Linked DNA regions of Homo sapiens: all the other regions are linked to region 2. The links are contacts of gene promoters, found by promoter capture Hi-C in blood cells and fetal thymus (Javierre and others, 2016). All regions are on one chromosome and are shown on one strand. The core of a region is centred on a gene start or on the middle of the fragment in contact, and the rest is flanking DNA. Distances in the headings are between cores, read along the strand shown.

Region 1 (4,940 bases), core at 1,753-4,252, 1.7 Mb after region 2:
AATGCAGAGGTTAGAAAATGCTTCCTTTTGAATGATCAAAGGTTACAGACAAAAACACTTGGCTTCTCAGAGGTGTGTGCTTTTGATCCTCTGCCCAAGACTTGTGCTCCCCTAGGGATGGACCAAAACTACCACTTAGACCACCACGCTGCGCATGCCACTGCATTCATTCCTTCACTGACTGCAGCCTATTGACTCAACACCTGCCTTGTAAGGTGAACAAACAAAATCCCCTACTCTCAAGAGAGCTTGCACTTTTCATAAATTATCTCCTCTGATCTTCATAACTGCCTTTGGGGAAGGCACATTATTCTCACTGTCTACACGTGACAGGGAGCTCAAGCTGCCTGCTCACATGCCTTTCTTGACCCTGGAAGGCATGGCGGGGTCTGAGGGCAACAGCCTGAAACAGTACTGAGACAGGCAAGGGCCAGACTCCAGAGCCTGTGTGCCAAGTTGGGGATGGAAAACATTCCTTAACCTCAGCAGGCTGTCTCCTCATCTATAAAACAGGGGCAACAGGGTTGTTGGGAGGGTTAAATGGGTTAATACAAGTCAAAAACCTGCAGTGGTGCCTGGCACATCACAATAGCTTGCGGGTTTTTTTTTTGTTTTTTTTTTTTTTTAATTCTGGGCTGCCCCCTTCTTCTTTCTGCAAGGGTCTGAGGCCTATTGTTGGATCCAGGCACAGCCTTCTAAGGTAAACTATTTTATTTTGCTTTTGATCTCACATCTTCTGATTTCATGACTTGTTTTTCAGTTTTCATTTTCAAGTTTTCCCTTCTGTGTCCTTCTATTTTTTTACAAACGGGCTGGGATCCTGCTCCATATAAAAAGGGAGGAAGAAAAGGATCCTCCTTAATCACCTGAGGCTGGCCTTTGCTTTACCACCAAAGTCTTTAAATTACTTGGTGGCATGGTGATATGTGGAGAAACAAGCCTATAGTTGGAGTTCCTGGGTTTAAAACCTGGCTATGATTTGAATGTGTCCTCTTCAAAAGTCAGGCACTGCCAATATGATAGTATTGAGAGGTGCGGCCTTTAAGAGGAGATTAGGCCATGAGGGCTCCTCCCTCATGAATGGGATTAAAGGTTTTTATAAAAGGACTTGACGGAGAAAGTTCGTCTAGCTTTCTTCCACCTTCTGCCATGTGCAGACAGCCTTCTTCCCCCAGCAAGACACAACGAGTAGGTCTGCACCAGACACCAAAGCTGGTACCTTGATCTTGGACTTCCCAGCCTCCAGAACTATGAGAAAATAAATTTCTGTTCTTTATAAATTACCCAGTCTCAGGTATTCTGTTAATAGCAGCAAAAAAAAAAAAAAAAAAAGACTAAGACACTGATTTAGCCACTCACTCACTGTGTGACTTTGGGTGAGCTACGAAGCCTCTATGTCTTGGTTTCCTGATCTGTCATAAAGGTTAGTAACAAAGGTACCCACCTCATAAAACTGTTGTGAGGATTAAAGAAGTTAATGTGTTTAACATGCTTAGACCAGTGCCAGGCATGTGAAGGTGCACAAAGCTTGTTAGCTGCTATTTTATTCACTACACTTGGTGCTTCTACTTTCTCCTGAGCCATTAAATTCCTAAACTCTAGTAATATGGCTTATTTCAGTCTGTTAGTGCTGCTATAACAAAATACCAAAGACTGGGTAATGTATAAACAACAGAGATCAAGATCATCAGCATGTTCAGTGTCTGGTGAGGGCTGTTCTCTGCTTCCAAGATGGTGCCTTGCTGCTGCATGCTCTGGAGCAAAGGTCCCCAACCTTTTTTGGCACCAGGAAGACATGGGAGACAATTTCACGGAAGACAATTTTTCTACCGTCTTGCAGGGAAGAGGGGATGGTTTAGGGATGATTCAAGTGCATTACATTGATTGTGCACTTTATTTCTATTATTATTACATTGTAATATATAATGAAATAATTATACATCTCACCACAATACAGAATTAGTGGGAGCTCTGAGCTTGTTCTGCTGCATCTAGATGGTGCCATGTGGGGATAATGGGAGACAGTGACAGATCATCAGGCATTAGATTCTCACAAGGACACGAAACCTAGATCCCTCACATGCACAGTTCACAATAGGATTCATGCTCCTATGAGAATCTAATGCAACTCTTGATCCAACAGGAGGCAGAGCTCAGGTAGCAATGCAAGTGATGGGGAGCAGCTGTAAATACAAATGAAGTCTTGCTAGCTGCTCACATCCTTCTATGTGGCCCGGTTCCTAATGGGCCACGGACCAGAAGTTGGGGACCCCTGCTCTGGAGGGGACGAGCACTGTGTCCTCATATGGCAGAAGGGAGAAGAGGCAAAGTTGGTCTCTCAAGCCCCTTTAAATGGCACTAAGCTGTTCATGAATACAGAACCCTCATGACCTAATCACCTCCTAAAGGCCTTATCTCTTAATACTGCTGCACTGGGGATTCAGCTTCGACATAAATTTTGGAGGGAACACAAACATTCCTATCAGAGTAGCTTCTTCCACCACCACTGCTGCATGAAATTAGATACAGTTGGTCCCCCCTTTATCTGTGGTTTTACTTTCTGTAGTTTCAGTTACCAACAGTCAACTATGGTCCAAAAATATTAAATGGGAAATTATAGAAATAAATGATGCATGTTTTAAATTGCATGTCATTCTGAGTAGTGTGATGCAATCTTGAATTGTCCTGTCTGGGAGGAGACTCATCCCTTGGTCCAGCATATCCACACTGTATACTACCCAATCCATTAGTCACTTGGTAGTTGACTGGGTTATCAGATCAAAAAGACATAGTATGTATAGGATTTGGTACTATCTGCAGTTTCACGCATCCACTGAGGGTCTAGGAATGTACTCCCTCCCCTCGTAAGGGGGGACTACTGTAACTTATCAATGGTCTACTAAATTGCTAAAGTCAATGCCTGTTCTTTGGCTTCATCTTCTACAACAGCTCTGTACATTGCCAATAAAAGTTTCATTTTTGAAACTCTTCAGTTTCTTATCTGTCTGTTCCTTTTAGCCATATTAATTGACCTCTCTTGATCTTCTAAGCCTATAAACAAGGACTTCCTTCAAGGTTCTGTTTCCAATATAATTTCCTTCTGAAATTCCAATCGTTCTCATACTTCCAACTGTGCCTGAAACCAAAATAATCTATCTAAGCTGCAGTTATCACCTTGACCCTAAAATCAATTCTCCTTGGCCTTCATTACTGGTACCACTATTCTGTAGGTCACCATTTTCTGGACAACACTTTTTCCTTAATCCCAACCATTAACTGCTGTCCAGAAATGTTCTATCCATTATTCAGGCCCATTTCAAATGCTACCCTCTCCATGAAGCCTTTTTCCAAATGAATGTACTTTCTATTTTGAAACCTCAGAACTAGATTTTTACTGCTCTTATTGTACTACTTTACACCAAAGTAAACTGTGTCATTTAGATCTCTGTCTAATCTCTGCTCTTAGATTTAAAATCCCTTAATGGCAGAAATTGATTTGGTCTTTGTAGCCCTTAGTACTTATCACATGCCTTGAATATGATAGCTGGTCAATAACTGCTAAATAACAAATGCTTTGGACGGTAGTAACCCGATTCTGTAGTCTTCCCCAGCCACACCACACGTCTCCCTCCTCTGTGCTATCTCATGGCTCTGTGCCCTTGTTCATGTGGTTTCCTCTGCCATACATGTCCGGCTCCCTCATTGCTGCTTCATGGACTTCAACTTACCCTTCATAATCTAACATGGACACCATCTCTCCTTTAGTGAAACTTCTCCCAACCCTTAGTAGAGGTAATCACTTCTTTTGTGCCTCTAGTGATTTGCAGATACAGCAGATCTTTTGTGCAGGAATTCAAATACTGAAAGAAAATAACTGGGTGTGGCGCTGGTGTGAACCACCAATGGCTGCTCAGTTATGTAATGGCAGCCCAGTCCCCAGGATGTGAACAGAACAGAGAAATAAAAACTTAACTGGTTATAGACTATTTCATGTCATAAGAATCTCACCGATTTCAGAATAAAAGTTATTAACCAACCAGAGCATAGGAGAAATCCCAGATGTGAAAGATGAATGATACACTTGAAATAGAAAAGCTAACCATACCAACCTTTTCTTCTTTAAAAAACTGATATGTAATAGCTGTACATACTTTTGGGGTACATGTGACATTTTGATACCTGCCTAAAATGTGTAATGATCAAATCAGGGTAACTGGGATATCCAACACCCTAAACACTTATCTTCTCTTTGCCAACACCAACTTTAGATGATGAAATCAAGATAGTACGGAGAGACCTTTCAAAAGTGCTGTTGCATCATCCACTTCAGGTTGTCAAGCTGCTGTTACCACAAATCCCAATATAGGGTGCTTAGGAACACTCCTATCTACAGGCCAATGAGAATTTCCAGTAAATACAAATTTCACAAACATACAGGCAGTACAATGTATACATATATCTTTTAACATAAGCTTTTTTAATGTCCCTTTTTCCTTAGCATAAGATATATATACACACTATATGTCATATCACATCTTAAGTATTTAAAAACCATACTTTAAGGTAAGGTATGTAAACTATTATAACTTTCATCTGTTTCAGATCAAATCCCAGATATGACAGGTAGGCTGTCTGTGCCTTCATTACAATTAGTTGTTCATACCTGTATTTCTTCCACTAGACAGTAGGTTTCTCAAGAGCAGCAATCACATCTTACTTTTTACCTGGCCTGATGTCTAGCACAAGGGAGATATTTCATACTCATGAAATGAACACTTGAATGACAGAGCTATTTTTTCATAAGTCTCAATTTGTAAATTATTTTAGAAATAAGTTCTCAAGAAGTCATGACTGGTTTTGTTGCTAGAAACCTTTATGATAAACTTTGTGTAAGCATCAAGTTACTTTAAAATTATGAGAAGTCACGTTATTAGTTTGAA
Region 2 (4,961 bases), core at 284-2,783:
TCTATGTTTCTAACTTGCCCAAAGTCTGCATCCTTGTAAAGTAGTGTTCTGAATGTGAGCGATCATATTCATGAAGTGCCTGGCACATAGTAAGCACTCAATAAAGAGGGATGTAATTTTTATGAACTGTGCACTGAACGTTTATTATAAGCTCATTTAGTTTGTAACAAACACAAAAGGCCAAACCTAGAACTTATTGGTAATTCTTATAGAAAGGACACACCTATGCCCAATACTTACTCACTTTCTTTTTTTTTTAGAGTCTCGCTCTGTGCCCCAAGCTGGAGTGCAGTGGTGCAATCTCAGCTCACTGCAACATCCATCCACCTCCTGGGTTCAAGTGATTCTCCTGCCTCCGCCTCCCGAGTAGCTGGGATTACAGGTGCCCGCCACCACGCCCAGCTAATTTTCTGTATTTTTGGTAGAGATGGGGTTTCACCATGTCAGCCAGGCTGGTCTCGAACTTCTGACCTCAGGAGTTCCAGGCCTCCCAAGGTGCTGGGATTACAGGCGTAAACCACCGCGCTTGGTCTGCCCAATACTTTCAACATTGCTCTGGATCTTACTGTAAAATTCTTGGAAACTGCTGTGATACTAAGATAACCAGATATTTACAACTGATACAAAGTACTACTGCAATAGTTATTTATGGATCCCGCACAATGCTGGGGGCAGGGTGGTAGGTACAGAGAAACAAACGTCACTGTAACTATCAAGTTACAAAATCCCTTGAGTAGAAAAACAATGACTTCCTTAAGATTTATTTTACTTTTTACTGTATTTAAGTTTACACTACTGTTTCTTCCTTACCAGGGGAGAATTTTATGATTTTTATGTTGGCCCATTTTCTTTTTCCGGAAAGTCTAAACTAGCATTTAGCTCGTCCTGATTAGAGTCAGGCACCGCCAAGGCATGGGTTGGCATCTTCCAGATCCCGCTCCCCCAACCGCGGCCACAGCAGATCTGGAGGACCGGGAGAGGACGCAAGGAGGAAAAGCCCTGCTCTGCGAGCTGACAGCCGGACTCTGCCCACATTGCCAATGGAACCACGTCTTCAAGCCGGAAACTCAGCTGGACCTCTCGCAGCGCTCTCTGCGAGGGGGCACAGGGGTTATTTTCTCCGATGTTGTCCACACCCAGAAAAGCTTGTCTCTCGGGGCTACTGTGCTGAGCCCCGACTGGTCAGGTTAGGCCACCGGGGTTAGCTCTGCAACTCTTGCTTCACGGTTAACAGCCCGGAGAGCTTTCTTAAAAAATACCGACGCCCACTGCCACCTGGGACAACGTAATCAGGCTCCCTAGAAAAGGGGCTCAGGCCTGGGTACTTTTTAAGGTTCTCTTGTGAACCAGGACCAAGGGTCTTGGGAGGGTGCCGCGGAGACCACGTGGGCATGGAGGCCCCGCCCCCGTTTCCCGCCCCGCGCGCCCCTCCCCCGGTTCCCCGCCCCCCCCAACCCCGCCCCCGCCCCGCCCCACCCCTGCGCGTCCCGCCCCTCCCGTGCGCCGCTGACGCGCCGTGCTCCGGCGCAGGCGCACAGGGGACGGTTGCTGGCCCAGGTGAGCGGGCGCGCTGGTCCAGGTGAGCGGGCGCGTCCCCGCGACGGCGCTGCCTGCCCGAGGCGGTTCACGTAAAGACAGCGAGATCCTGAGGGCCAGCCGGGAAGGAGGCGTGGATATGGAGCTGGCTGCTGCCAAGTCCGGGGCCCGCGCCGCTGCCTAGCGCGTCCTGGGGACTCTGTGGGGACGCGCCCCGCGCCGCGGCTCGGGGACCCGTAGAGCCCGGCGCTGCGCGCATGGCCCTGCTCTCGCGCCCCGCGCTCACCCTCCTGCTCCTCCTCATGGCCGCTGTTGTCAGGTGCCAGGAGCAGGCCCAGACCACCGACTGGAGAGCCACCCTGAAGACCATCCGGAACGGCGTTCATAAGATAGACACGTACCTGAACGCCGCCTTGGACCTCCTGGGAGGCGAGGACGGTCTCTGCCAGTATAAATGCAGTGACGGTGAGGGGGCACCCGGGCCCAGCGAGGGCTCGTGCTTTCGGGGGATTGGGGTGACGGAGATCCTGGAGGTGTGAGTGACAGATGCAAGGCAGACCTTGACGGTGTCCTTCGGCTGTGGAAAAACTTAACCACTGCTAGAATCTTGCCGTTCTAGTGATTGAGCAAGCTGGGTACAAGTTCGCACCACTATTGTTAGAATGTGAGAGGTCACATTCTAACGGAGAGGTGTACCCCCCGTCCCATTTGCATTGCTTCTGAATTACCTTTTCCCCCCCTCAATTGCACCAAGTTGCCGAAGAACTTACTGACGTAGGAATCATGGGAATAGAGTGGAACAGACTGGTTTTAGCTCATTTTTGCTTCTGTAAATTGGATGAACATGCGAAGCAAACTGAGAATTTAAAAACCATGCCGTATTAACTTTCTCTATAATTGATATTAAATGGTTTTTTTTCTGCAAACCCATAGACAATAACTTGCGACCTTTGTACAGACTTTTGGTGTACTCGAGTGTTGAGAAAGGGTTCCGATAACTCTTCTTTCCTTAGATATCAGTGACCCGCCTCCTCCTCATTGTTGGTTAACGTTAATACAGTTATCTTCATTTACTCTTTTAATATTTTTTGAACTTTCTCTTTGAACCTGAGAATTTGTTTGGTGGCGGTATGAGTACTAATCAACTCAGTATTTCAGGCAGAGATAGTTCTTTTGTAGCACATTTTTGAGTGCTTAAATATTTTAATAGGTCAGAAAAATATTGGACTTTTGTTTGGAAATTGAAAATGTTAAGAGAGCAGTTGGGAGATCATGTTTCCAATAAGATTAGCCAAGGTTAGAGTCTCATTATGCTGGCAGCGGAAAATAATCGGGGATCCAGTGACTTCATTGTTGGAACCTGATTGTATAGGTGAACTTAAAAGGAACTGGTATCATGTAAACCTATGATGCCACATGCTGCCTGCAATTTTCAAGATAATTTCTAGTTTTATGTTAATAGAAGTAAAGGATGAACTGTATCTTGTATACTTTAAAGCGCTGAACAGGTGCTGAGACATGTTGCATTGCTTCTTAAATTTGTGCCTAAACGTTACCACCTAAACGTATGCTTCATGAAGATGTTTTTATTCTTGTAGAACTTGTTCGGAGGATTAAGTGCATAATTTAAGGATCAAATAGTTGCCTTTCCTAAAGCAAATGTTACAGTTTTACTTAGTCATTCCTATTCATTATACAAATATTTGAGTCCCAACTGTGCTTCAGATGTTGTTCTAATTTGAGATTCAGCAGTTAATAAAACAGACAAAAATCTCTGTCCGTGGAGCTTGAGTTCTGGTGAGGGAGAGATGGGCAGTAAACTAGTAAATAAGTAAAATTAGGGGAAGTGTGGAGTCTGATCAGGGCAGACGAGGGGCCATGTTGGAGGCAATTTACTCTTCTAAATGGGTTGTTCAGCAAAGGCCTCACTGATGAAAGAATATTTGAGAAGAAATCTGCACGTGGTAAGGGGAGGGAATGTGGTTATTTGGAGAAACAGCATTCCAGACAGAGGGAATAGCAAGTGCAATGGACCTGAGGAGAAAGGCCAGTCAAGGATGACTCTGAAGGTTTTGGCCTGAGCCAAAGGAAGGAAACGGTTGCCATTTACAGAGATAGGGAAGACTTGGAAGGAGTCGTCTTCATAAATTTATTAGTCTAGGGTTCTAGAGTTTATTTACATTTAAAACATGCCTGAAGTTGAATGAATACCAGCCTTGTTAAAATACTGTTTTAGTCTTTTTATTTTATTTTTTGTTAATATTTTTGAGGCAAGGTCTCCCTCTGTGCCCAGGCTAGAGGGCAGTGGTGTGATCATTGCTCCCTGCAGCCTCCAACTCCTGGGCTCAAGCAATTCTCCTGCCTCAGCTTCCCAAATAGCTAGGACTATAGGCCATGCCCCCACTACACCTGGCTTAATCTTTCTTTTTAATCTTTTTCATCTTCTACAGGCTTCTCAAAATTTACTATTTGGAGTTTAGAGGAAGGTCTCTGGCACAAAAAAACACAAAGGAATTTGAGAATTTAAGAAATGTTATATGCCTCAGTGAAAAAAAATTTTTTGTCTTAGTAAGTACTCTACGTTTAACGGACATGTGGTTTCAAGTCCAAGTCACCATACTGATAGATAATTGGATCTCAATGAAAAAAAAAATTAGGCAGGACGTAATGGCTCATGCCTGTAATCCCAGCACTTTGGGAGGCTGAGGCGGGCGGATCAGTTGAGCTCAGGAGTTCGAGACCAGCCTGGCCAACATGGTGAAACCCCGTCTCTACTAAAAATACAAAAATTAGCTGGGCATGGTGGTGCACACCTGTAGTCCCAGCTACTTGGGAGGCTGAGGTAGGAGAATAGCTTGAACCTGGGAGGTGGAGGTTGCAGTGAGCCGAGACCGTGCCTCCAGCCTGGGTGACAGAGCAAGACTCTGTCTCAAAAATAATAATAATAATAATAATAATAAAATTGCTGTTACTCGAGCAGTCTCTCTGGAACAATTCAACCTTTCCTATATTTTGGAATTCAGGTGACCAAATCAGAACCAAACAGAACAATCCCAAATCTGGAGAAACATGGTGATTAAGGGGTATTTTTAGTTGCACGAAAGAGATCAAGAGAGCTTTAAAAAAAAAAAAAAAGAGTGAGTTAATGGTAGGGAGAGGTTGGTCAAATAAAGGGCACATGTCCTTGCTTTACCTGAGGGACTGGCATTATGGAGACTTGCTCCCTTAGTTTTGGCCATCCTCTCTTGGGTAGGAAAAAGGCCTTATTGAGAGTTAAGTATTTAGGGAAATAAATTTGATGATCCGTTATTTTCTTCAACTTTTTTCTCCCTGACAGCAAGGAAGATTTAAGGAAGAAAACTTTTCGATTTCCTTTGAAAAATAGAACACAAAACTGGCTTGTAAATGTTTTTAGAATGATGAAT
Region 3 (5,266 bases), core at 2,760-5,259, 1.8 Mb after region 2:
TCAGATGATCTGTTCTTTATTCCATGTTAACTCCACAAGCATTTACTTCATGCCATATGGTTCTTGCCTTGCATTATCTTGTCAACACCTTCTCTAGCCACTGAAATTTCTCTCATTAATTCTTTTACAGCACATTCACCCAAAACATACCAGAGCAGCATTGCCTAAGAAAATCCTGTCTCTTGGGGGAATAAATACTTTAGTTGAGATACTACTGAAGCACCAAATTGCCTCCAGGCTCCCAGCCCTTTTCTAAATAGAGATTTAATAGTAAGCAGTCATCCAACTAATGCTTAGAAATGACCTTGTTATAGATTCTCAACCAAACAGTAGCCACCAAGAAGCACTCTGATAAACTGTTTTGTTAAGAATTGGAAACTACACTGTTGAGATCTCAAAGAAGAAAACCTAATTCCTACCTTAAGAAATCCAGAGGAAGAGACAGACACACAAAACAAATTACAATAAAATGTGATACATACATCAATAGATGCTTGTATGCACGAATTCATTCATCTTTTGGTTCTCTATTCTGTGCCAAGAAGTAGGGATACAGTGGTTAACAAAAGAACAAAATCTCTGCCCTAAAGAAACTCACATTCCGTTGAGAGGTGGGAGTGGTCATAGGCTAAATACTTGCCAGTGTTTACTGAGAAAAATATGAATGAGATAAAATAAGAGGTGGTACTGGGCATTGACCAAAATAGCACTGAAAGGTAACAATTGGCCTGAGAGGCCTGAGGGATGACAAGCAATCAGTCAAGTAAGAAGTTATTCCAGGCCCAAAGAAGACAAACATCGTACCTTGAGGCAGGCCCAGGCATGGCAGAAATCAGCTTAGTGTGTCTAGAGTAGGAAGGTCAGGTTGAAATGTACAAGTGAAGGCAGAGCTAAAAAAGAGAAAGGCAGCAGCCAGATCCTTCAGGCCATAGTAGGTCAAGTAAGGAGTGCAGAGGCAATTGGTTTCAGCCAGAGAGCTACAAGATTTGATTCATGGTTTATGTAAGAGATACTTTTGGCTGCTCTGTGGATGAAAATCTGGAGCGGAAGCAAGCAGGTCGGTTAAGAGGCTTCTAAAGTATCAGCTTAGAAATGATGGTAGCTTTAGAAAAAAAAGAAAAATAAATAAATGATGGTAGCTTGGATGAGGATGCTGACAGTAGAGATGGAGAAAAGTAGATGGATGTAGCACACATATCTGCTGTAGGAGTCAGTAAGACTTATGGATTGATTAGAAGGGACTGGGAAGGTCTTAAAATGAAACAATGGTATCATAGAAGTTCATCTCCTTCTGCAGGGTAGGGAAGCATCTCAGGGTACACATTCTCAAAGAGGTAACATTTAAGCCCAATCTTAAAAGCAAGTGTGAAAAAAAAAAAAAAAAGAAGTGTTGGTGAGGACGTGGAGAAATTGGGACCCCTGTGGGAATGTAAACTGGTGCACTCACTGTAAAATAGTATGATGGTTCTTCAAAAAATTAAACCTAGAATTACCACATGATCAAGTAACTCCTAGGGACTCAGATATTTGCCCCCTTCTATTTATAGCAGCATTATTCACAATAGCCCAAAGTTGGAGGCACAAGTGTCTATCAATGGATGAATGGGTAAACAAAATGTGGTATATACAGTCGACCCTCCACATTTATGGGTTCCACATCTGTTGGTTCCACCAACCGCAGATCAAAAAAACACATCTGTACTGAATGTGTAGACTTTTTTTCTTGTCATTCCTTAAACAATACTGTATAACAACTATTTACAAAGCATTTACATTGTAGTAGGTATTATAAATAATCTAGAGATGATTTAAAGTATCCAAGAGGATATGCATAGGCTATATGCAAATACTACACCATTTTATATCAGGGACTTGAGCATCCTAGGGTTTTGTTATTCGCAGGAGGTCCTGGAAGGAATCCCCTACAGATAAGGAGGGATGATTGTACATATGATGGAATATTAGTCTTCAAAAGAAAATTTTCACATATGCCACAACATGGATGAACACTAAGACATTATCTAAGGATTTTAAATGAGTAGGGATAAAGATCATAATACTTTAAATGCCCCACTGAAAAACAAATGTCACAGTTCACACCTCATCCACTACATGCCTTCGTAATACTGCTTCTACCTAAAATTCTCTTCTGAGCTCATGGGTGCCTGGAGAAAACCTACCTGCTTTTCTTTTCTTTTTTAAAAATTGTGGTGAAATACATATAAAATTTACCATCTTAACCATTTTTAAGTGCACACCTTAATGGCATTAGGTACTGTCACACTGTTGTGCAACCATTGCTACCATCCATCCATAGAACTTTTTTCATCTTGCAAAACTGAGACTTTCTGTCCCTATGAATTTCACTACGCTAGGAGGCACCTCATATAAGTGGATCATACAATATTTGTCTTTTCCGTTTAAAATCCTGATGCAAAACTCTGGCTTTATCAGATTCTGAAAAGCCTAGATCTTTCTTTGCCATGTTATAGGGGCAGGAAATAGCATTCATTTAATAGATACTTGAACTCCTACTATGTTTCAGACAGCAATGACTCTGTCCTCCTAGATGTCAGAACAGTGGTGAAGACTGACATCCAGGCCCAAGGTCATAAAGTTATGTAGCGTCAGTTTTGAAAAGTGTAGTGAAGGAAAAGTGCTTGGGCAAGGGACCTGGTTCTAACAAGGGAGGCTACCCTACTTGCAGAGGCTGTGAGAAAAGGCTTCCCCAAGGAAAAGGCATTTAACACCTGACTGATGCGTAGGAGTGACTCAGAAAAGAAGTCAGAGACCTAAGCCAGCCAGTAAGACAAAGGGGGACGGTAGAGACAGGTTAGATTGGACATTTTATTGCAGCAGATAACACGTTTTCCAACCCCCAAAAATGTCCAATTTAGACTCCCATACGCAGGAATCAGAGGCTATGAACCAAAGCCGGAGATTTGGTAATAGGCTTCTTCTGTGTTTTCTGGACTTTTTATCTTATTGGAAATTATCTTCTTAAATTCTTACATTCGAAACCCACAAGGTAAAAAGAATATCCTTCCCTCTTTCTAACATGGGGGCCAAAGTTTCTCTCCGAGGTCACAGCTGGTGGAAGGGAAGGCTACTTTTGGAAAGATGGAACCTGGCTTGCCACCTTGTCCTTCCGCCATCCCTATTACTCTCCCTCAATCTCCGGATGACTTTTCTACTTATGATCTTGGAGTATGAGCAAGTCACGCGTCCGTCACTACTTGATGGGATCTTAAAGGCATCAGAAAGGAGAAGCGCCGCCACCACCATCACCTGTTAGTTCAGGATGCAGGTGTGAGGCAGCCTGGGGGCGCGGGCGGCCGGAAGGGGCACAGGAACTGCAGCCCCCACGCACCTGGAGACTCATCCGCGGCATCCGCGTACCCACAGCCCACGACCTCCCGCTCACCCTTCTCCTTGGTCACGATGGAGATGAGCGGCACCCGCGGGCGGTCGCTGAAGACCTCGGCCTGCTGCACCAGCGCCTCGCGCACGCTGTGGAAGTCGCTGAGGACCACCACCAGGTAGTGGCCGATAAAGAAGCTGAAGATGCTGCCGTACACGCGGGCTAGGTGAGCCAGGAGCACCTGCGGGCCTATGACCGAGGGATCAATCCCTGCGGCCCTGGTCCTGCTGCTCAGCCAGCTCCGCCGCCGGAGGAAGGGAGGCAGCAGCACGTGACCGAAGTTGCCCACCAGAGGCCAGGGCGTGGGCCCGGGCGGGATGCCCCGCGCCCGGCGCCTCCGCAGCCAGCTCCAGCCCAGCAGCGCTACGAGGCCGCATAGCAGCAGCGCGCCCCCGCTGGGGTCCAGCCGCAGCAGCCCCAGAGGCGCACGCAGGAGGCGCGCGGGCCAGGGCGGGTCCTCGGCCGGCGGCTGCGACGGCCCCGGAGACGACATGGTCCGGGCGCCGGCGGCCTCGGGTTCCCCTTGCTGCCTGGAGGAGACGCGCACGCAGCTGCCTGACCCGCGGCGCCAGTGTCCTGCTCTGCTCTGGAAGGTCGGGGGCGGGCAGGGGGTGTAGGAACGCCCCCGGATTGGCTGCGCCGCGCGCATTCTCCCCGCCGCCGCCACTCAGCGACGCCTGGGCGGAACCTGGAGGCGCGCCGGCTGCCTGGCGGAGGGGGTTGGCGGGCTAGCAGGCGGGGGACCTGAAGTTTGCCCCGAAGTCCGGTTACGACCCTTTGCAGGGTCGGGCTTGGCGGTGACTGTCCCTGAAACTGGGATGCTGGCAACACAACCTTGCGCTCTGATTGGCTGTTGGTTTCCCTTGTGTCATTCGTTTGTCATTATCACTCGTTTGTCAGTTGACAAACACAAACGCATGGTTATGAAGTGCATAAACCGTGTTAGGATCTGTACTGAGTGTGGGAAACTGGTGAACAGGCCCGTGAGATGGGTCGGCCTTAGCACCTGTGCCCTGAGCTGGGAGAATGGGGTCAACGCCCTATTCCTGCATGCTTCGGTGTAGTAGTGAAAAGACGGGGTTCCTTATCTAAACTGGGATTCGCAGCACCCTTTCCTCCACGCAGAGACAGCAGGATGCTGGGAAGCCGTGGAATGCAGAATCTGTGGGTGTCGGCTTGGCAGCCAACTCTGCGGAAGGGATGATGGCGGGAGTGGGGGGAGCGAGGGGCGGGCAGCGAGGCACGAGGAGTCACGTTCTGAGAGCTTGCCCTGGGCTAGAAAACTTATGCGGAGAGCGAAAGCTGTGTCCATTCCTGCGTGTGGCCTGGGTGCATTAGAAAATGTACTTAAATCCAGAAATAGCGAAACCAGAATTTGCTTGGTGGATTTAAGTAGCTAGAAATATGAAAAGAAGATAACCGGTTGAGGGAGGGGTGGCAATATTATTATTGGTGTTAGACAACACTTGAAAGGCTGAGGTTGAAATATTAGATATGAATTGTATAATACTTTAAAAACAAAGTATTACTTTATTTTATCTTCTCAGATAATGGCTTTCCTGATAAGGGCTTCCCTTTCAGTCTTGTTTAGGCCAAATCCTGTAGTTTCTGTTCAAGTTGGATTGAGCATAGAATTGTCTGTACTGGGCCATTTTTCTAGCCGTTTCATTTTTCTCCATACATTAAAAGTTTGAACACCACGCTGTACCTATAAAAATGTGATCAAAGAAAGCATAGTGAGTCCTCAAATAAATACATGATCCATTTTATTTTTCTATAAACAAGTGATGCCAGTAGGATATGTTAAATTTCAAGTCCACTCTGTTCTCATATTCTTTTTGACAT
Region 4 (5,399 bases), core at 526-3,025, 1.1 Mb after region 2:
GGGCGCGGTGGCTCAAGCCTGTAATCCCAGCACTTTGGGAGGCTGAGGCGGGTGGATCACGAGGTCAGGAGATCGAGACCATCCTGGCTAACACGGTGAAACCTCGTCTCTACTAAAAATACAACAAATTAGCTGGGCGCAGTGGCGGGCGCCTGTAGTCCCAGCTACTCGGGAGGCTGAGGCAGGAGAATGGCGTGAACCCGGGAAGCGGAGCTTGCAGTGAGCCGAGATCGCGCCACTGCACTCCAGCCTGTGTGATAGAGCGAGACTCCGTTTTAAAAAAAAAAAAAAAAAAATGTGGCAATGGCCTCAGAACCAAAGCCCCGAGTAAATGGCCAGCTATTCCCCCACCATTCCCACCGACACCTTTCAGAGGGAATGAGAAATCAAAGTGCCTGCTCACCTCCAGAAATGATCTTTCCAGAGGTAAAATATTTGGGGTATGCTTAAGCAGCAGCTGTTCCTGCTGTCTGCCAGAAGCCCAGAAAAAAGACTGTCGCCAGGGCTGTCAATATGGTCCTTTCTTACACACTGAGATCAATTTAACAAAACAACACAAAAATACGCTGGCTTAGAAATGACAAGGAATTTAGCCATACACGTTGAAGAGAAAAGTGTGTTTTACATATATCCTGAATAAAGTATCTAACTTTTAAAGAATGTTGTAAAATATTTCCATATGTACATTATATCAAAGTACTTTCCCCAAGTTCAGTTGAAAGGAAATACCCAGAGCATTAGGCCCATCAGAAATGATGTCTCCAGTTGTGGTTTTCAGATGCCCTGCCATGCATTTGCCCAGAGCTAATCAAAGACAGCTTGATACTATCAGCCAGTGTGTGTGTATGGGGGTGTGTGTGTGTAATTCCTTAAAAAGAGAAAAAAAAAAATCATTTTGGGTAAAACATGATACAGGAGGATATCAGTTGGCTTTTTGGTTTATTTCCAATATTATCACTGCTCTTCAATCACTCTAAATGAGAAGACTTCATCCTGGCCATCTTGATGCATTTTCTGTGTTTCTCTGTAAGTAGGTAAGAAGGCAGCTCTTGTACTGCAAGCAGGAAAGAGGCTTACTGAGCATCATTACCATGAACCATGTGCTCTGCGATGTGGACAACACAAGGTATTTCAGCAACCCTCAGAACCTCTGAAATTATGATTATTTATCTTCATTTTTACAGGTGAGGTGACTAAGATGGACAGAAGGTAAGAAAATTGCTCAGTCACCTAACTGGTTAATGGTAGACCTATGATTTAAACCCATGTTTGTCTAATGCCCAACCGTACACAGTTTGTACCACATCGTTGTGAAAGGGCAGTTCAAGATCCATCTGGGTGAAAATCAGCTAGGAGATCTGTTACCATGAAAGTTCTTGGCCTGACTTTCAGAGGTTCTGATTGGGGACATCTTTGATGGAGCTTGGGTATCTGAATTTTAACAAGTTTCCCAGAAGAATCCTAAGTGAATCTAAAGTGTGAGAACCACTGACAATATTGTTAAGCTCAGATTTTTGAAACAGAAAAGGAAATTTCAGAAGACAAACCTCATGGGAGCTTCTGATGTCGATTTCTGAAGACATGGCAATCCCGTGTTTTCTTCACTGCCGATCCTGTCCTTTGCATTACCTCTTAGCTTTGTGTTACATTGAGTAGAGTGATCCTTGACTCCAAACAGATTGAGTTACCAGCTTCCTCTGCTTAAAATTCCCTCAGCAGAAGTCAGTCTTTCAACTCACCATCAGCAATTACAAAACCAAAAATATAAATACTCCTTGAGGAGGGAACATGTTGACTCACATGAAATGAGCATGTGCGTGGGTTTGGGTGCCTCGGGCAGGGATTCTGGGATTATGTCCAGAAAGAGAGCATACATTTAGGGTTAGCATGCCCCTTGGTCCCCTGAACTCTTTGCTTTTGGGGTGGGATATTGGCAGGTGAAAGCCAGAGCAGCGCCCTCTAAAGCATGGGACCCAGAGGAGAGGCCCCTTGTCTGAGGGCCGCACTGGTCCTAGAGATGAATGGCAAGGACCCACACAACCTGGTGTCTGGAGAACTCCCTAACCTCATTTCTGTTGCGCTTTCCCTCAGCTTCAGGACCTCCTCCTGCCTCCGGACTATTCTCTGCTGGAAAGCTCTTTCCCACATATCCTTATGGCCACCCTCCTCACTGCCTTCAGGTCTTTGCTTCGATGTCCCCTTCTTGGGGAAGTCTCCCCTCACCAGGATATTCAAACTGCAACCCTCTACTTCCACCCTGCATTCTATCCCCTTTATCTGCTATATATATATATACTTTTTTTTTTTTTTTTTTTTGATATGGAGTCTCGCTCTGTCCCCCAGGCTGGAGTGCAGTGGCGCGATCTCGGCTCACTGCAACCTCCGCCTCCTGGGTTCACGCCGTTCTCCTGCCTCAGCCTCCTGAGTAGCTGGGACTACAGGCGCCTGCCACCATGTCTGGCTTATTTTTTTGTATTTTTTAGTAGAGGCGGGGTTTCACCGTGTTAGCCAGGATGGTCTCGATCTCCTGACCTCGTGATCCGCCCGCCTCGGCCTCCCAAAGTGCTGGGATTACAGGCATGAGCCCCCGTGCCCGGCATCTGCTTTATATTTTGTATAGCATTTATTGTTCATATCGTGTTTTTTACTTACTTACCTATTGACATATTACTTATTCCTTCATTCATTTATTGTCTGTCAGCCCTCACTGGAAGGTAATCTCCAGTAAGGCAGGGATTTTTGTCTATTTTGTTCATCTTAGTGCCTATACTAGCATTTTGTACATAGTCAACAAATTGTAAATAATACCTGACTGATTGTGAAGAAATTTTAAAAACCAGGGGCTTGGTGTCTTTCCCATCTTACACTGGAGCAGGATATCCTGGCTGTCACTGGGGGACGGCGTGAACTCAGAGATAATGTCGAATGGAGTGAAGGAGAATGATGACGATTTTCATTTAGCAACCTTATCCTCTTTCATCTCCCCCAAATTGTCAAAAAAATGAATCTTCCTGAGGGAATCCCTTGAGAATGAAGCAGAGAGCATGGTTGAAGAGGCAGCAATCAACGCCTTATTTTATCCATGGGATAAACAAGTGGCAAGACTCCATGACTCTCTCTTTTGCTTGTTCTCTCTTAAAAATAGAATTGTAGGGCCGGGCGCGGTGGCTCATGTCTGTAATCCCAGCAATTTGGGAGGCCAAGGCGGGTGGATCACCTGAGGTCAGGAGTTCGAGACCAGCCTGACCAACAAGGCGAAACCCCGTATCTACTAAAAATACAAAAATTAGCTGACCGTGGTGGTGGGTGCCTGTAATCCCAACTACTTGGGAGGGTGAGGCAGGAGAATCACTTGAACCCAGGAGGTGGAGGTTGCAGTGAGCTGAGATTGTGATTGCGCCATTGCATTCCAGCCTGGGCAACAGAGTGAGACTCTTGTCTCAAAAAAAGAAAAAAAAGAAAAAAAAGAGAGAGAATTGTGGGAATTACCAATCAGGAAAATATTTCAACATAAAAATATATTAGCTTAAAATTCTATGGAGGAAATGGAATGGTAATATATGTCAAAAAGAAAAAGGGGTGACACAGTGGCTCACATCTATAATTCCATTGCTTTGGGAGGCCGAGGCAGGAGAATCGCTTTGAGGCCAGGAGTTTGAGACCAGCCTAAGCAACGTAGCAAGACTCCATCTTTTTTTTCTTTTTTAAAACAAAAACCATTTTACAAATTAGCCACGTGTGGTGGTACATGCCTGTAGTCCCAGCTGCTTGGAAGGCTGAGGCAGAGGATTGCTTGACCCCAAAAGTTTGATGTTGCAGTGAGCCAGGATGGTACCATTAAACTCCAGCCCAGTCAATAGAGCAAGACCCTGTCTCTAAAAAAACAAAACAAAATGGAAGAAAAAAGAACGAATATAAAACTTCCAAATGTTAGAAAAGCTTGTTCCTGTCTTTTTGAAAATGGCTACTATACCATAAAAAAGAACAATATCATGTCCTTTGCAGGAACATGGATGGAGCTGGAGGCCATTATCCTTAGCAAACTAATGCAGGAACGGAAAACCAAATTCTGCATGTTCTCACTTATAAAGTGGGAGCTAAATGATGAGGACACATGGACACATAGAGGGAAACACACACTGGGGCCTATTGCAGGGTAGAGGGTGGGAGGAGGGAGAGGACCAGGAAAAATAACTAATGGGTACTAGGCTTAATACCTGCGTGATAAAATAATCTATACAACAAACTCCCATGACATAAGTTTACCTATATAACAAATCTGCACATATACCACTGAACTTAAAAGTTAAAAATAAATAAATAAATACATATACAAAAACTCAAAAAAATGGCTATGGAGATTTTGATATGCTTAAAAATTGATAAAACAGTTCTCTTTAAAATTATTAAAATGTTCACTCTGTTGGAAATGATATCCTTTGCAAGGATTTACATTTTGAATGAAAAGTTTTAGATGACAATCTGAAAATGTGCCAGAGTCTACATAACTTTCCAAAATGTTAAGGGGTACTCAAGTAAAAAGAAATATTTAAAGATCATTGCACTGTACCATTGTCTTAGTGGTATATTGCTATGTAACAAATCACCTCAAAATTGAATGGAATTTAAAAAGCAGCCATTTTATTTTTTCCCACCATCCATTGGGCTGATTAGACTTAACAAGGCAGTTTTCTACTGGTCTTGCTTAAGGTCTCTCATGCAATTGCAATCAGATGGCAGCTTTGGCTAGAAGCAGAGTTGTCTAGAGCAGGGTCCCAAACTATGAGCTAAGAGACCAAATCTGACCTGACATCAGTTTTTGTAAATAAAATTTTATTGGAACATAGCCATGACCATTTGTTTATGTATCGTCTATGGCTACTGACACTCTACAATGGCAGAATTGAGTAGTTGTGAAAGAGAGACCCTATGGCCTGTGACATCTTTTATGACTTACACTAAGATGCAATAAACACGTGAATTTTCTTCAAGACCATTTGTTCTTTAGGCAAGTCAAGCTGTAAGCTTATTTTCAACCCTAGAATGAGAGAGAGTTGAGAGAGTAAAGTCTTCAGGCTATTTGCACAGGCCAAGGAATATAGAAGCTGAATGAATATCAAGGGAATTTGGTCAGTAAATTTGATCCTTTTCCTCCTTAATGGTAGGTGGTTGGTGCCTAAATTATCTAGGGGATTGCATAATTTAAATATCCCCTAATGTAGAGGAGGATTTATTTGCTCCTAACTAAAACAGTTTAGGAAAGCTTTTCTTTTGCTGGTGTCCCTTAGGATGAAAAGTAGCCCTGGGGCCACACAGGTATAGTAAATCTATGTGCTGACAGGGATGTTCCTTCTTAGTGATTAACAATTAGTTCACACTTTTCAGGTTTATTGGCCTTT
Region 5 (4,751 bases), core at 1,944-4,443, 1.1 Mb after region 2:
CGGTCTGATGTTTCTCTTGGTTTTATGAAAAATTGATTTTAGGTCCTAGATATCTACTCATTTTCTAAGACCACTTTGTTTTAATTCAAGATGCTTTGTATAATAAATGATATAATATCTAGTAAGACTGACCCCTCCCAATGTTGTTCTACTTTTTCAGGGTTTTCTTGACAATTCTTACTGATTATTACATACAAATTTTTAGCATCAACTTGTTTAACTCCAAACAAAAGTTGACATTTTTATGTGTCAAGTTTGTGTATTAGCTTAGGGATACTTGACATCTTTATGATCCTGAGTCATCTTATCTAAGAACATGGAATATCTGTTTGCTGTGTCCTTAAAGTTTTATCCCTAAAAGCTCTGTACATTTCTTATTAAGTTTATCTCTAGGTATTTTATCTGTTTTGCTGTTAACATAAGTGGTATACTCTTACCCACTACTCCATTTAATTGTTTTCTTTTAAATTGAAGGCTATGGATTTTTGTTTATTCATGTATGCCCTGCTACCTTACTGAATTATCTTATGATTGGTATTAACTTTTTATTGATTTTATTTTTTTCAGATATTACCTCCTCCTTTCTAATTCTTATGCCTATTATTCAATCCCATTGGCTTATATCTCAAATGCAATACTAAATATAAATAGTAGATAGATTAATGGCATTTTTGTCTAATTCCTGAATGCAGGAAAACATCCATGTTTCTCCACTATGTCATATGTTAAGAAAATAGCCACTGATTACTATTTATTTATTTTTTTTACCATGTCAGGAAGGGATATTAATTTATGAATTGCCTTCTTACTATCTATTAAGATGAGAGTTTAAATTTTCTCTTTAGATCAACTAATGTAGTGAATCATATTGGAGGAGGGTGATGGGGCGCCTTTTCTAATTTGCGTAAGACATCATGGTTTTCATGTCTCACTGGCTGTTCTTCTGCCTGGAATGCTGTTCCCCACGTATCTGCATGGCTTGCTCCCATTTCCTTTATGCCTTTGCTCAAGGTCACTTTTGAAATGAGGCCCATCCTAATCATCTCATTTAAATTGCACTTTTTGCTGTCCTCCATTGGCATTTTTAGTTCCTCCCACCAGGTTCTTTTTTTCCTCACACTTATCACTTTCTAACATACTATATATTTATTTATTGTGCTTATTGTGTGTCGTCTGTCTCCACTACAAGTGTACTCTGTCTCCACTACAAGTATACTCCATGAGGCTAGGAAGTTTGGTCCTTTTTTTCTTTTTTCCTTTTTTTGACTTACATGTTTCCAATACCTAGAGCAGTGCTTGGCAAACAGTAAGCATTCAAAAATATTTTTTAAATGAATGAATAAGTAGAGATTAGCGCCTACCAAGGAATTATTCAAGAAGAATATCAAATAATAAAATTTAGTATTCTAGCGAAGGTTAGACTTAACAGCTATGGAGATAAAGTAAAGAGATTAAAAGCATTTTCATTGTAGAACTTTTACACGTTTTTCCATTATTGGGCCTCATAGCCTATATTGCACCATGAATCAATGCCTTTTATTAATCTCGTGATTATTTGTGAATGGCCCAATTATAGTCATATGTTGCTTAATGACAGATACATTCTGAGAAATATGTTAGGTGATTTCGTCTTTGTGTGAACATCATAGAGTGTACTTACACAAACCTAGATGGTAGAGTCTACTGCACACCTAGGCTTTATAGTATAGCCTTCTGCTTCTAGTCTACAAACCTGTACAGTATGTTACTGCAGTGAATAGTGTAGGCAATTGTAACACAATGGTAAGTATTTGTGTATCTAAACATATCTAAACATAGAAAAGGTAGAAGAAAAATATGATATAAAAGATAATGGTACACCTGTATAGGGCACTGACTATAAAGGGAGCTTGCAGGACTGGAAGTTGCTCTGGGTGAGTCAGTGAGTGAGTGGTGAGTGAATGGGAAGGCCTAGGACATTACTATACACTATGGTAGACTTTATAAACACTATACACTTTGTATACACTATATATATATTTATATATAAAAAGATAAATATATATACTCTATATACACACTATATATATGTTTTATATACACTAAATTTATAAAAAGTTTTTTCTTCAATAATAGACTAACCTTAATAAGCTTACTGTTACTTTTTTACTTTATAAAGTTTAAAAAAAATTTAACTTTTTGACTTTTTGGTAATAACACTTAGCTTAAAACACAAACACATTGTACAAGTTTTGCTACAAAGAGTTAAAATATCAGAGCCACTCTAAATAACCACTGTAAATTTTAGAAATAGGAGTTTGAAACAAATTAGATTTTTCTAATAGAAATGTTCTGAGCCTAAAGCCCTAAAGGGGAGTAAGGAAACCAATTAACTTTAATTTAAATAATCATGTCTTAAGTAGCAAATGAGCGAAGTTCTATTGTTAAAGAACAACTGTACTAAATCCCCGAAAGGTTAGATTCAAAATGGTATAAATACAGTGGTTTCACATCTTACTAATGAAATAAATTTCTATTGGTCATTGTAACCTCTGCTTCTTGTCTTACTGGACATTGTTACTGAGGGTGGAGGAAGGGAATGATTGAGATTAAGGGCAGAATAATTATGTGCAATTCCCATTGATGTTCCTATTGTTAGTAACTTTTTTAAAAGCAACCAATGAAACAGCTAATAATTTTATTCCTGGGAAAAAATAAGAAAATCTGAGCAAAGCTTATTTTCTTCTTTTAAGCTTGTATATATAGTATATGATTTTCTGTTTGTACTTGCTATTTAAAAACAATGTATTTATAATGATTGAGGTCACCATGGTGTTTTATATACAAACATGCCCCCTATTTACATCCACAATGACTGAATTTCTGCCAATGTCTATAAGCATTAAAGCAACCATCAAAAATGTATTAATAAGGCATATATTATTAATAAGGTATAATACAGTAGATACTAAACTCATGCCTGGAGTTTTATTCTGGATGAGTTAATGTAGTAAAGTAGGAAGAGAGTGAGTTTAGCAAGCAGTTTGAAGCCAGACGATGGAAAGTTTTAAATGCTATGCTTAAAGGCTTAAATTGTTTCTCTCGTGCCTTGTCTTTTGATTTCTTTCTCCTCACGTGCTACCTTTGTGAACTTCAGAAAGCAAGTTAACCTCACTGAGACTGTCTCTTTATCTGTAACATGGAAGTGGGAATCCCATATTGTGGGTGTGCTGCGGGAATTAACGGAGATAAAGCACGTAGCTGAGGCTGGCACACCATGGCTGCTCAATAGATAAATGGTCTTAGTATTGTTTTCTAGAAATGAAATGCTGCCTTCTGCTCTTCCTTATAACCAGTTTTGCACATCACTGTTACACCTTATACCTTACTAATGTTTGGTGTGTTCTTAGGAGAACATTTTTATTTCCTTGTGTTATTTTGGGGAACTCTAGAAAAACCACTATAGAATTTATCAAAATGGAAACATAGCATGGATTGACAGAAAAGGGCAAAAGAGTTAAAAGGGTTAGTGTGTCAACTCCTTGACTTTCTGGAGATCCTTTTTTTTTTTTTTTTCCCAAAACGTAGCCACTGCCTTTGTGTCTTGTTCCACGTCCTGTGTCTTGTTCCAATTATTTATGCAAATGAAGACAATTGTTTTCCTATGAAAGCTTGGTGAAAAGATGCTATAGAAAAATCCAGTGCATTTTCATTATTGCTTGCTCAACAGCAATACTCTTTTGTAGCAAGAAGAAAATAATTTTGCAAAATGCTCCCCCACCCCCACATGAAAAGTAAAAAGTACATAATATCATGTTTGTGTTGAAACTTTTTCTTCCAAAATGTCATAACCCCATACGAAAGAGAATTAAAATCCCATTATTTTAATTTACATCTAGCCACAAGATAAGTAAAGTTATCATTGAAATTCTAATTAAATGGGATGATTGACTAAGGTAGCACATCAAAGAAGAGAAGTGAATATGATAAGTCGAAGACTTATTAATTAGTCTGCGTGGTAGAAATTCCAGGGATGTCAAGCTGAGCCTGCTTCAAGGAGAAAAAAAGCAGACAAGAAAACGTTCGTTTCTTTGAAGTTAGGAACTGAGATAGTGATGGAGGTAATTGCGTCTGACTGGATCCAGTAATGAAGAGCTGTAAATCAGACTGCAGAATCGAAAGGAAGATTCAAGTAACGAATGTGGCTGCCTCCCCCTGCTGTGAAGAAACAGAATGCAGAGCGCACTAATTGACCCAGCCTATTTCCCAGTAGTTCTCTGTTATTATTTATTAATTTTTAATTTCTGAATTATTTACGTCCTGGGAAATTATTCTTGACAGGCTGTTAGGCGTGCCAAAGTTAATGGAGGAGGAAAGGACTGGTACCAGAATTAGCAGGGATGTAGTCACAGGCTACTGGATTTAATGATTTTGGAAAGAAAAATTGATTTCACACAGTGCGTCACTTTATACTACTTTAGGGATACACCAGCTATTTGATTAATTGAGGAATAACCAATTCAAAGTATATTTGAAGTGTAAATGAGTCACAGTGCTCAGCTGTTTACTTTTCTCTCTTTCTGAGAGATCTGAATTTTCTTCAAGCTGATGATTAAAAGCCAATGAAGACACACTTGCATGCTTTGAATGCACACCTGTTTGATTCATATTAAACTCAGAAGGGAGGAAAACCCTGAAGTACATGAGAAGGTAGTTTCACTTATTTTTTTTCTCCTTTCTAATCGCTTTATGTGATTTCTTTCCTCCAGCGT

The links. Contacts are between HindIII fragments. The CHiCAGO score rates a contact against its expected background, and 5 or more counts as called.
Region 1: a fragment that was not itself captured here is called in contact with the fragment with the promoter of PLA2G12A in region 2 in 3 of 17 cell types (activated CD4 T cells, fetal thymus and naive CD4 T cells); the score reaches 6.1 in activated CD4 T cells.
Region 3: the fragment with the promoter of CYP2U1 here is called in contact with the fragment with the promoter of PLA2G12A in region 2 in 4 of 17 cell types (total B cells, naive CD8 T cells, fetal thymus and 1 more); the score reaches 10.7 in total B cells.
Region 4: a contact is called between a fragment that was not itself captured here and the fragment with the promoter of PLA2G12A in region 2, in 3 of 17 cell types (total B cells, activated CD4 T cells and total CD8 T cells). The highest score is 8.5, in total B cells.
Region 5: a contact is called between a fragment that was not itself captured here and the fragment with the promoter of PLA2G12A in region 2, in 2 of 17 cell types (total B cells and naive CD8 T cells). The highest score is 6.1, in total B cells.

The regions. Positions count from the first base shown.
Region 1 is chr4:107,999,498-108,004,437 of GRCh38, reverse strand. All of the region lies in intron 1 of HADH (hydroxyacyl-CoA dehydrogenase), which reads right to left. Among named protein-coding and RNA genes, the nearest start is that of HADH, 12 kb to the right of the region's middle. The HindIII fragment of the contact is 2,945 bases long and covers 1,530-4,474 here.
Region 2 is chr4:109,726,642-109,731,602 of GRCh38, reverse strand. PLA2G12A (phospholipase A2 group XIIA) reads left to right here and starts at 1,533. Exons shown (of 4, transcript NM_030821.5): 1 at 1,533-2,001. The coding sequence starts at 1,794. It also overlaps a transcript of CFI not described here. RefSeq lists enhancers at 539-1,415, 2,075-2,144 and a silencer at 1,405-1,744. The HindIII fragment of the contact is 6,805 bases long and covers 1,148-4,961 here.
Region 3 is chr4:107,930,292-107,935,557 of GRCh38, reverse strand. It overlaps CYP2U1 (cytochrome P450 family 2 subfamily U member 1), which reads right to left and starts at 4,009. Exons shown (of 5, transcript NM_183075.3): 1 at 3,425-4,009. The coding sequence starts at 3,914. CYP2U1-AS1 (CYP2U1 and SGMS2 antisense RNA 1) reads left to right here and starts at 3,439. Exons shown (of 7, transcript NR_125929.1): 1 at 3,439-3,587. All of the region lies in intron 1 of LOC107986298 (a long non-coding RNA gene), which reads left to right. LOC124900751 (a long non-coding RNA gene) reads left to right here and starts at 3,973. Exons shown (of 2, transcript XR_007058221.1): 1 at 3,973-4,585. RefSeq lists enhancers at 3,272-3,341, 3,402-3,471, 4,132-4,639 and a silencer at 3,682-4,271. The HindIII fragment of the contact is 6,450 bases long and covers 1-5,266 here.
Region 4 is chr4:108,631,831-108,637,229 of GRCh38, reverse strand. No RefSeq gene overlaps it. Among named protein-coding and RNA genes, the nearest start is that of RPL34, 14 kb to the right of the region's middle. The HindIII fragment of the contact is 4,333 bases long and covers 1-3,941 here.
Region 5 is chr4:108,610,963-108,615,713 of GRCh38, reverse strand. All of the region lies in intron 1 of RPL34-DT (RPL34 divergent transcript), which reads left to right. Among named protein-coding and RNA genes, the nearest start is that of RPL34-DT, 7.1 kb to the left of the region's middle. RefSeq lists an enhancer at 3,405-4,751. The HindIII fragment of the contact is 918 bases long and covers 2,735-3,652 here.